Linked DNA regions of Homo sapiens: all the other regions are linked to region 1. The links are contacts of gene promoters, found by promoter capture Hi-C in human tissues and cell types (Jung and others, 2019). All regions are on one chromosome and are shown on one strand. Each heading gives the region's core, a stretch centred on a gene start or on the middle of the fragment in contact. The rest is flanking DNA. Distances are from core to core; before and after follow the strand shown.

The links. The method cuts DNA at HindIII sites, captures the fragments that hold promoters and counts their contacts. A contact is called where the count stands out against the background at its distance.
Region 2: a contact is called between a fragment that was not itself captured here and the fragment with the promoter of HLX in region 1, in 1 of the 25 tissues and cell types used here (lymphoblastoid cells).
Region 3: a contact is called between a fragment that was not itself captured here and the fragment with the promoter of HLX in region 1, in 1 of the 25 tissues and cell types used here (aorta).

What each region holds. Positions count from the first base shown.
Region 1 is chr1:220,877,421-220,880,977 of GRCh38, reverse strand. It overlaps HLX (H2.0 like homeobox), which reads right to left and starts at 1,535. Exons shown (of 4, transcript NM_021958.4): 1 at 529-1,535. The coding sequence starts at 1,120. It overlaps HLX-AS1 (HLX antisense RNA 1), which reads left to right and starts at 838. Exons shown (of 3, transcript NR_046901.1): 1 at 838-1,129. RefSeq lists an enhancer at 202-810 and a silencer at 1,929-1,978. The HindIII fragment of the contact is 15,886 bases long and covers 1-3,557 here.
Region 2 is chr1:222,178,825-222,182,381 of GRCh38, reverse strand. No RefSeq gene overlaps it. Among named protein-coding and RNA genes, the nearest start is that of LINC01705, 120 kb to the right of the region's middle. The HindIII fragment of the contact is 8,549 bases long and covers 1-3,557 here.
Region 3 is chr1:221,996,108-221,999,664 of GRCh38, reverse strand. No RefSeq gene overlaps it. Among named protein-coding and RNA genes, the nearest start is that of LINC02257, 19 kb to the right of the region's middle. The HindIII fragment of the contact is 5,367 bases long and covers 1-3,557 here.

The DNA of each region.
Region 1 (3,557 bases), core at 286-2,785:
AGTAAGTAAAGGCTTTACATAAATCGGCTTACGGCCTCACTTTCACGTGTCTTCCAAGAACGCCACAGACGCAAAACCTCCGCCCCAAGGTGGCCCCACTCTGCCCGCTCATCTAGGCGGTTTTGTTTATTATTTACATTTCCTGGGTGAAATTTTTACTAGAAATCAGATAAGTGCGAAAGTGTTTCCCAAAAATGCTTTAGCTGTCAGAAAATATAATTCTGTCTCTAGATACATTATTAAAGAGATCAAAGTCATGTTAGCAGATAATTACACCAACCACTTTTATAAATATTGATTCTAAGACGTGTTTTTAAAGAATCCCTGGAGTCATTTTTTGTTTGTTTTACATAGAACAGGTGAGTTTTAGACCTAATGTTTTGTAGTTTTCTTACAATTCGTTTTCTTCTCTCCCGTTTTACCGATTTGTCCTTAATTGTAAAAACACTCAAAGGCACCCCAAGCCAGCCCGGGGTCCGGGGAGTGGGTCAGTGGTCAGAGGCCTGCAGCCTCCCGCCCAAGACCTACCTCTCAGCGTGTTGCCTTCTTTGACTTTTGGGTCAAATTCTGCAGATAAAATGCGGTCAATTCCAAATTTGAGGTCTTTGCTGGAGGGGGCCGGGGCAGAGCCACTGTGGTGGGGGTTCGGAACCACTCGCGTCCCCGAGGCCGGGGGCTGCAGGGCGCCAGCCCGGGGCGGAGGCGGAGGCTGTTGCTGCTGCGGCTGTTGCTGCTGCTGTTGTTGTTGCGGGTGATGGTGGTGGTAGGCGGCTGAGAGCGGAGACAGCCGCTGCGGGAAGCCAGCCGGGACTTCGGAGGGCGCCACCACTGGGGTGGGTCGAAGCGGGGATCTGGCCGCCGCTTGGAAAGAGGCGTGCGGGTGAACCGAGCCCAAGTGCGCGGTGAGGGCGGCGGCCGAGGCCCCTGCCAGGCCCTCCGGGGCCGCCCCCAGATCCCCCACGCCGGCGTGCAGAATGTCTGCGATGCAGAAGGAGGGCTTTTTGACGGCGGCGGGGTCCAAGGGGAAGGAGCAGCCGCCTGGGCCGGCCGAGGAGCAGTAAGCGGCCGACCAGAGGCTGAAGTTGGAGGCGTAGAAGGGAGCCAGCCCGGCTGCGAACATCCTGCCGGGGTGAGCCGCGCGGCTGCCGCAGTCCAGCCGGACTGGGTGGGTGGGCGCGCGGGGAGGGGCGCGCGAGTCCCGGAGAAGGCGGCGGCAGCCGAGGACGATCCGCTTTCGCTTCTCCGCCCGCACTGAGGAAGAGAGGCCGGGAGCCCTAGCGCCACCGAGGGAGGAGGCGAGGGCCGGATCTCGGCCGGTCACCGCCTCGCTCCCTGGCCTCGCTTTAAAGGCGGCGCGGCGCCCGCACTCCTCGCGGGCTGGATGAGAGCGAGGGGCGCTGGGGCCGCAGGGCGGGCGGGGGAGCCAGGGAGACGGGAGCCGGACACCGCAAGAAAACCCAAATAGCTAAGCCCTAAGAGCTAAATTTAAAACAACAACAATAATAGTCCGTTAGTTAGGGGGGGGGAAAAGTAATAGAAAAAAAAAAAAACTCGTCTCTAAAAACTCCCAAAGTTTTGGCAGGAGCTTTCGAGTCAGGCCCGGGGTAGGACCTCGATCCGAGCGCTCATTGGTCATCCTCGTGACCAATGGGAGCGGGGAGTGGAGGGGAATTAGGAACAAGGGGGCCTGGCCGGACCCTAGCCACGCCCCGGCCACGCCAAAGTTTTTGCTGCGGCCGCGTGGGCTTAGTAGCGCACATCGCAGTGCTTCTTGCTACTCTGCGTAGGGGCCAGGCAGCCGCTCCGGAGGGCTCTGACTCTCTTCTAACTTCTGCAGCTCCGAACCGCCACGGGGCAAGGAGGGTTGATCACAGGAGCTTTCCTGAAGCGCTTGTCACCCGGGGCGAGTTGGGGGCGTGGGGAAGGGACGGTAATCTCACTCTTTAGGGCTCTGCAAAGCCCGCCTCCCGGTGGAGAGCGGAGCGCGCTTTGGCCCCTTTGCTTCCCTTCTCTTGACCTCATTCTGCTTTTATTCCAGGAGTCCGTGTCCTCGGCAAAGCCCCTCATCTTTCCTGGGCCCTTGCCCAAATGTTGCCGCCCTGAGTCCCGGCCCAACTCAGCACCGCGTCCGCCTCGTGCCTCCCAGGAGATCCTCCGGGAAGCGAGGAGGAGGGGCGGCCGCAAATTGGTTTTATTCTGAGCTGTCACACAGTGACAAATTGAACGAGTGACTTTTCAAACAAAATAAGACGGATGGCTCCAAACGTCTCTCTTAGACGCAGCCAAACCTTTCCCCGGAGCCTCAGAGGCTACAAAACAGGCTGCCTCCCGAAACCCGGGAGAGCGGCACGCGCTTCCATCCTTTGCAGGAGGTTGTAGGAAATGTTAGCCTCACCCCTCCACCACATCTCCGGATCACGTGGGGTTCGTTGTTTTGCAAGTGCCCACAAGAGCAGATTTCCGTGGGGTTCAATACTGCTTTCAATTCTGTGACAGCTTCCCCAGGAACCCCTTGGGCCTGGTTGCAGGAGGAGCTGCGTGGTGGTCAACGTCTTCCATTCGTGCCTTGGGTCTTTAGAACGCAGGGTAGTGGTGGTGGAGGTTTTGTGCAACATCGACATATCTATTTTAAGAATTTCTTCTCTTTAAATTATAGTCAGAATGAATTTCCCCACCCCTCTCCCAAACAAACCACAGGCCACCCAGATGAGCTGTTCTTGCACATTTTCAGGAAGAAAATAAAATAATACGAATAATGAAACCACGAAAACTTTTGTTTTCGATTGCCCTAATAAGCATCTCCTAACAGGGATTCTGTGACATTTTTATTTCCCTTCAGCACGAAGGCTCCTCACCAAATAAACCCAGAAAAGCAAGTGAACTTGCCATGCCTATCTCGAGTTCAGGGTTTGGGCTTATAAAATTAATTTCTGGTGTTTTCTCTAGCCCCTTGATGCAGATGCTATCCTTTTAAGCTTTTGACTTTCTCCTGGAAAATTATCAATCACTTCTGATCAGCCAGCACTAAGATCTCTCCCTCTCCCTCTCTCTCTCCCTCCTCCCGCCCTCCAGCTCTCCCGCTCTCGCTCTCCATCTCTCTTTTACTGAAAGGTTTTCTTCCCCTGCTCCACGCAACCAGGAGAGAGGTGCTATTTCCAGAGATAGATGGGTGTGTTTGGCTGAAGGTAGGGGTACCTGGGGCGAGAGACGTATTAAGACCAGTTTTTCTGTGTCAAGGTGAAGGCAAAGGAGCGACAAGTACAACATGGGCAATTGAGGCGCTGGCTGAGGGTTCTGGTGAGCCTTCGGTGGGAGTGTGCGTAGCGGAGGCCGTGAGCCCTCTGCTTTCTAGTGCCACTTCCAGTTTGATTGCGTTTCTAATTTGACTGCAAACATTTAGACCTCAGCCTAAGCCCAAACTCACGGTTGTGAAAGAGGTGCATTTACTCCTTACCCGAGGCAGCGCCGCGCGCCCTCACCCTCTCTCTTAAGAAATAAGACTCCCCTATCAGCTTTCACCCTTTCCAAGGTTTGCGACGCTCCGGGGTGGGCACGGG
Region 2 (3,557 bases), core at 467-2,966, 1.3 Mb before region 1:
GGGAGTGCTTAGAAAGAGCTTCTTTTTTTCTGGCCTTGTGGGCTGGCTAGGCAGTGGAATATGTATGTAATAGGAATAAACTTATGGGGGTCCATGGGACATTCTGTTTTTTTTTCCTGTGGACATATGTTTTTATTTTTAGGAGTGGTATTACTGGTAACATTATAAGACACTGCCACACTGTTTTCCAAAGTGGCTGTATCATTTTGCATTTCTGTCAGCAATGAATAAGAGTCCTAGTTGCTCCATATCCTTGTCAACTTGTGGCATTATTAGTCTTTTGAATTTTAGCAATTGACATAGGTGTATGGAGGTATTTCATTTTAGTTTTAAATTTGCACTTACCTAATTGCATCAAATAAGTTTTAGAAATTCACTCTATAAATGATAGCTTCTGTGCTATTTAATTTTTAATCCATTATATATGTGTAGATATAAATATATAACTATACATTCATATCCTAAATTCATAGAGTTTCTATGAGAACGTCTTCACATTTTTTATTAAAGGTACATTTTTTTTAAAAGGCTTAATTTTTTTAGAATAGTTTCAGGTTGATAGCAAAATTGAGAAGGTACAGAGATTACTCAGCTATCCCCTCACCCTGCACATGCATTGCCTCCCCCATTAATAACACCCTTCATCAGAGTGCTACATTACAAGTGATAAACTCACATTAACTCATCATTATTACCCAAAGTTCATGGCTTACATGAGGGGTCACTCTTGGCATTATACATTCTATGGGTTTGCACAAATGTATAATAAGATGTATCCAGCATTATAGTATCATAGAGTAGTTTCACTGACCTCTGCATTTTGCCTGTTGATCCTTTCCCCCTTCCTGCTGCTAATTCATGGCAACCATTGATCTTTTTACTGTTTCCAGAGTCTTGCCTTTTCCAGAATAGCGTATAGTCATACAGTATGTACTCTTTCCAGATGGACTTCTTTAACTTAGTCATATGCACTTAAGTTTCCCCCATATCTTTTATGGCTTGACAGCTCATTTCCTTTTAGCACTGAATTGTATTCTATTGCCTGATGTATCAATGTTTATTTATCCATTCACCTACTGATGGACATCTTGGTTGCTTTCAAGTTCTGGTAATTATGAATAAAGCTGCTATAAACATCTCTATGCAAGTTTTTGTGGGGGTATATATTTAAAACTCCTCTGGATAAATACCAAAGAGTCCAGTTGCTGAATTGTGTGGTAAGAGTTTGTCTGTTTTTTAAAGAAACTGCCAAACTGTTTACCAAGGTTGTGGTACCATTTTGCATTCCTACCAGCAGTGAGTGAGTGTTCCTACTGCCCCACATTCTTACCAGCATTTACTGGAGTCAATGTTCTGGGTTTTGGCTATTCCAGTAGGTTCATAGTGGTATCTCATTGTTTTAATTTGCATTTCCCTGACGACATATGATGTGGAGCATCTTTTCATATGCTTAGTTGCCATCTGTATATATTCTTTGGTGAGGTGTCTGTTAAGGTTTTTGGTTCATTTAAAAAAATAATTCCAACTTTTATTTTAGATTCAGAGGGTACCTGTGTAGGTTTGTTACCTGGGTATATTGAGTGATGCCAAGGTTTGGGATGTAACTGATCCTGTAAGCTAGGTACTAAGCATAGTACCCAACAGTTAGTTTTTCAGCCCTTTCCCCCTTTTTCCTTCTCCCTTCTAGTAGTCCCCAGTGTCTATTGTTGTCATCTTTATGTCCATGACTGCCCAATGTTTAGCTCCCACTTATAAGTGGGAACATATGGTATTTGGTTTTCTGTTTCTGCATTAATTTGCTTAAGATAATGGCCCTCAGCTGTATCTATATTGCGGCAAAGGACATGATTTCATTCTTTTTATGGTTGCTTTGTATTCCATGGTATGTATGTGCTACAGTTTCTTTATCTAATCCACCATTGATGGGCACCTAGTTGATTCCATGTCTTTGCTATTGTGAATAGTGCTGCAATGAACATACAAGTACACATGTCTTTATTTGGTAGAACAATTTGGGTTTTGGGGGTATGTATGCAGTAATGGGATTGCTGGGTGGAATGGTAGTTCTATTTTAAGTTCTTTGAGAAAGCTCCAAACTGCTCTCCACAGTGGCTGAACTAATTTACATTCCCACCAACAGTGTATAAGTGTTCTCTTTTCTCTGCAGCCTTGCCAACATCTGTTGTTTTTTGACTTTTTAAATCATAGCCAATCTGACTGGTGTGAGATGGTATCTCATTGTGGTTTGATTTGCATTTCTCTGATAATTTGTGATGTTGAGCATTTTTTCACTTTTTTTTGGGTTCTTGAATGTCTCCTTTTGAGAAGTGTATGCTCATGTCTTTTGCCCATTTTAAAATGGGGCTGTTTGTTATTCCTCATTCAATTGTTTAATTTCCTTATAGATTGTGAATATTAGACATTTGTCAGGTGCATAGTTTGCAAATATTTTCTCCCATTTTGTAGATTGTCTGTTTACTCTGTTGATAGTTTCTTTTGTCGTGTAGAAGCTCTTTAGTTCAATTAGGTTCTACTTGTCAATTTTTGTTTTTGTTGTAATTGCTTTTGAGGACTTAGTCACAAATTTTTCCCCAAGGTTGATATCCAGAAAGGGGTTCCCCAGATTTTTCTCCAGGATTGGTATAGTTTGGGGTCTTACATTTAAATATTTAATCTGTCTTGAGATAATTTTTATACATGAGGACAGGTAGGGGTCCAGTTTCATTCTTCTGCATATGGCTCACCGGCTATCCCAGCACTATTTGTTGAACAGGGAGTCCTTCCTCTATTGCTTATTTTTGTCGACTTTGTTGAAGATCAAATGGTTGTAGGTGTGCGACTTTATTTCTGGGTTCTTATTTTGTTCCTTTGCTCTATGGGTCTATTTTTGTACCAGCACCATGTTGTTTTGCTTACTGTTGTCTTTGAGTATATTTTGAAGTCAGTAATATGATGCCCCCAGCTTTGTTCTTTTGCTAGAATTCCCTTGACTGTTTTGGTTCTTTTTTGGCTCTATATAAATTTTAGAATAGCTTTTTTTCCCAATTCTGTGAAAAATGACATTCATAGTTTGTTAGAAAGCGATGAATCTGTGGATCGCTTTGGGCAGTATTGCCATTTTAACAATATTGATTCTTCCAATCCATAAGCATAGAATGCTTTTGCATTTGTTTGGGTCATCTATGCTTTCTTTCAGCAGTGTTTTTTAGTTCTCCTTATAGAGCTCTTTCATCTCCTTGGTTAGGTGTATTCCTAGATATTTTATTCTTTAAATGGCTTTTTAAAATTTTTTATTTATTTATTTATTTATTTTTTTTGAGATGGAGTTTCTCTCTTGTCACCCAGGCTGGAGTGCAATGGCGAGATCTTGGCTCACTGCAATCTCCGCCTCCCTGATTCAAGCGATTTTCCTGCCTCAGCCTCCCAAGTTCTGGGACTGCGCCAGCACGCCTGGCTAATTTTTGTATTTTTAGTAGAGATGGGGTTTCACCATGTTGCCAGGCTAGTCTCGAACTCCTGATCTCAGGTGACCCGCCTGCCTCGGCCTCCCAAAGTGC
Region 3 (3,557 bases), core at 692-3,191, 1.1 Mb before region 1:
GATAGACTTATCATATTCTTAGATGAGATAAATACTTTGAAGATATTAATGGTCCCTGGATTAACTTTTAGGCATAGTATTATTTCAAGGGAAATCTCAATTTGGGGAGATAATTTGGTAAAATGATTCTGAAGTTCATCTCAAAGAGTAAACAGGTAGGAATAACAAAAAGTATTTTGCAAAAGAATAGTAATACTAAGGGAGAAGACTTAACTTACGAGATTTTTAAATGCTTAATGACGATTTTGCCATCAAAACAGCATATACATCAAGGTAAATTTCAAAATATATCCCATATAGGCCCACTGTCCTTTGTCTTAAATTCTTGGGGTTACATATGTTTGTGAATTTAAAATTTGAATTTCAGAAAGGTAATTTGGTTATATCCTAAATATTACTGAATACTTCATAGACCTCAGAACCCAGTGGGGTCAGGACCAGTACTACATAAACAAACATATTGATATTTCTGTAATGAAACTCAGTAGGACACATAAAAACTACAAACAGCCTCCAACTGATTCAAGTCATATTTTGTTCCCAAGTGAACGTTGGCACGAAACTCATGAAAAAGAAAAAAAAATGTGCTTTTTAGAACTTCGCTAATTTTGAAATTTTGGATTGCAGATCATGGGCCTTTATGTATGTCATAGGCTGTACTCCCTGGAAGCTGACTCTGATATGGAGATTAGGTTGTAGGACTTTGTATTAGTCAGTTCTCATGCGGCTATGAAGAAATATCCGAGACTGGGTAATTTATAAAGAAAAGAGGTTTAATTGACTCACAGTTCTGCCTGGCTGGGGAGGCCTCAGGAAACTTACAATCATGGCAGAAAGCACCTCTTTACGGGGTGGCAGGAGAGAGAATGAGTGAAGAGTGAAGTGGGGGAAAAGCCCTTTATAAAACCATCGGATAGCATGAGAACTTACTCACTATCATGAGGACAGCATGGGGGAACTGCCCCCATGATCTAATCACTTCCCGTGAGGTCCCTCCCTCAACATATAGGGATTATAATTTGGATTACAATGCAAGAGGAGATTTGAGTTGGGACACACAGCCAGACCATATCAGACATTCATTAGGGAGTGTGCTTGGGGTGAGCATGGAAGGAGAGGACAGAAGTGAAATTGAGCACAGAGATAAGTTGAGCTGTGATTCAGTCCCAAGAAAGGCTGCAGCCACACACCACATAGGGAGCTGTGGGGCTTAGAAGGTCATTTAGATTCTTTTTCAGGCAGATTTTTTTTTTTTTTTCTGCAGAGTCAATCCCCAAAGAACTGGCAGCTGAGAGCTGTCTTCTAGCTGCTGGAGAAACAAAGTCCTTCATTCCTGAAAGGGAGTTTGGGGTATAGGCCAAGACACCCATGATGTGTGTGGGGATCTAATACATGATAAGGAAAACCACACACAAATGGATTAGTCAGCAAACAGTTTGGGGAATGATCGCCAGTTAAATCTTCACCTCGTGCTACATGTAAAATAAACACAAGATGAATTATCAAGTTAATTACAAAAAATAAAACATCTCAAAATACAAATAAATATTCTCCTGTCTTCAAAGTGGAGAAGGAATTATAAACAAAAAGCATGGAAGAAATTACAAGGTAAAAGCAAAGATTTGAATACAAGTAAATTTAAGGGGTTCTTTTTTGTTTTTTGTTTTTGTTTTTGTTTTTTCAGATGGAGTCCCACTCTGTTGCCCAGGCTGGAGTACAGTGGTGAGATCTTGGCTCACTGCAACCTCTGCTTCCCGGGTTCAAGCAATTCTCCTGCTTCAGACTCCTGAGTATCTGGTATTACAGGCACACATACCATGCCTGGTTAATTTTTTTGTACTTCTAGGACAGACAGGGTTTGGCTATGTTGGTCAGGCTGGTCTTGAACTCCTGACCTCAAGTGATGTGCCTGCCTTGGCCTCCCAAAGTGCTGGGCTTACAGGCGTGAGCCACCGTGCCCAGCCTAAAACTTTTTAATGTTGAAATCATTAGCAAAATTAAAAGACAGAAAACATGTAGAAAAAATTTGCAGCATAGATAGCAAAGGATTAATATACATATGCATGTATATATATATCTCATATAAATCTCATGAAAGCTCATATAAATAAATAAGAATATTTCACTAGGAAAGAAAAATGGGCAAAGATTATAAATAGAGCATTCTATAAACATACACAGAGTTTTCAACCACACAAAATAAACTCAAGAAAATTTCAATAAAACTTTGTTATCACTTTTTTTTTGCATATATAAAGTTCCAAACATTATAAAACATGACAGGTTTTGGCCAGGTGCAGTGGCTCACTCCTGTAATGCCAGCACTTTGGGAGGCCAGGGTGGGTGGATCACTTGAACTCAGGAGTTGGAGGCCAGCCTGGGCAACATGGCAAAACTCTGTCTCTATGAAAAATACAAAAATTAGCTGGGTGTGTTGGCAAGCGCCTGTAGTCCCAGCTACTTGGGAGGCAGAGGTGGGAGTATGGCTTGAGCCCAAGAGGTAGAAGCTGCAGTGAGTCATGATTGCTCCACTGTACTCCAGCCTGGGTGACACAGTGAGACTGTCTCAAAAATAAATAAATAAATAAATAAATAAAATAAAACATGACAGTTCTTACTGTTGTGACAGCCAGTAGAAGTATAAATTGTTGCCACTTATCTAGAAAACTATTTGACAATTTATTTAAGAAACTTAAAAATCTTTGTATACCTTTATCCTGAAATTCTTTTTGTAAGGAATCTGCTGAGGAAAAACACAGCAGTTCAAAGAACTATTCACGCAAGAGGGTTTTCATTGCTACATTATATAAGATAAGCAAAGGGTTAGAAACACTCTCTCAATAACAAAGAAATGCTTAATAAATTGTTGTACACAGATGTAATTAAATTATTATGGAGACATTAACATATAACATTAAAAAAACTAAATGACAAGAACATGCTTACAAAATTGTTAGAAAATGTAAGATATGAAACTATATACAATGACATCTATCTTATCTCTATTTATCAGAAAGACAATACAAATAATATGCCAAAGCATTAATAGTGCTTATCTCTGGCTGGGTGTTACAGTATAACAAGTCTACATTTTCTTTTGTATACTTCTACTATATTTTCCAAATACAACCATGTAACAAACATGGTAGCAAAAGGTAACAAACATGTTACCTTTATAATAAAAGAGAAATCAAAGTTTATCTAGGCCAGGAGTGGTGGCTCATGCCTATAATCCCAGCATTTTGGGAGGCTGATGTGGGAGGATCACTTGAGGCCAGGAGTTCAAGGCCAGCTTGGGCAAAATAGTGAGATCCTTCTGCTACCAAAAATAAAAATAAAATATTATAAAATAAAACATGCAGAATTGTGTGATCTGTAGTCTTATACAGTAATGTTCAACCTTTTATGAACAGAACAAGCTTTGTATAATATCTTTTTTTTTTTTTTTTTTTGAGACCAAATCTCTGTCACCCAGGCTGGAGTGCAATGGCACGATCTAGGCTCACTGCAACCTTTGCCTCCTGGGTTCAAGTGATTCTCTGGCTTCAGCCTCTCAA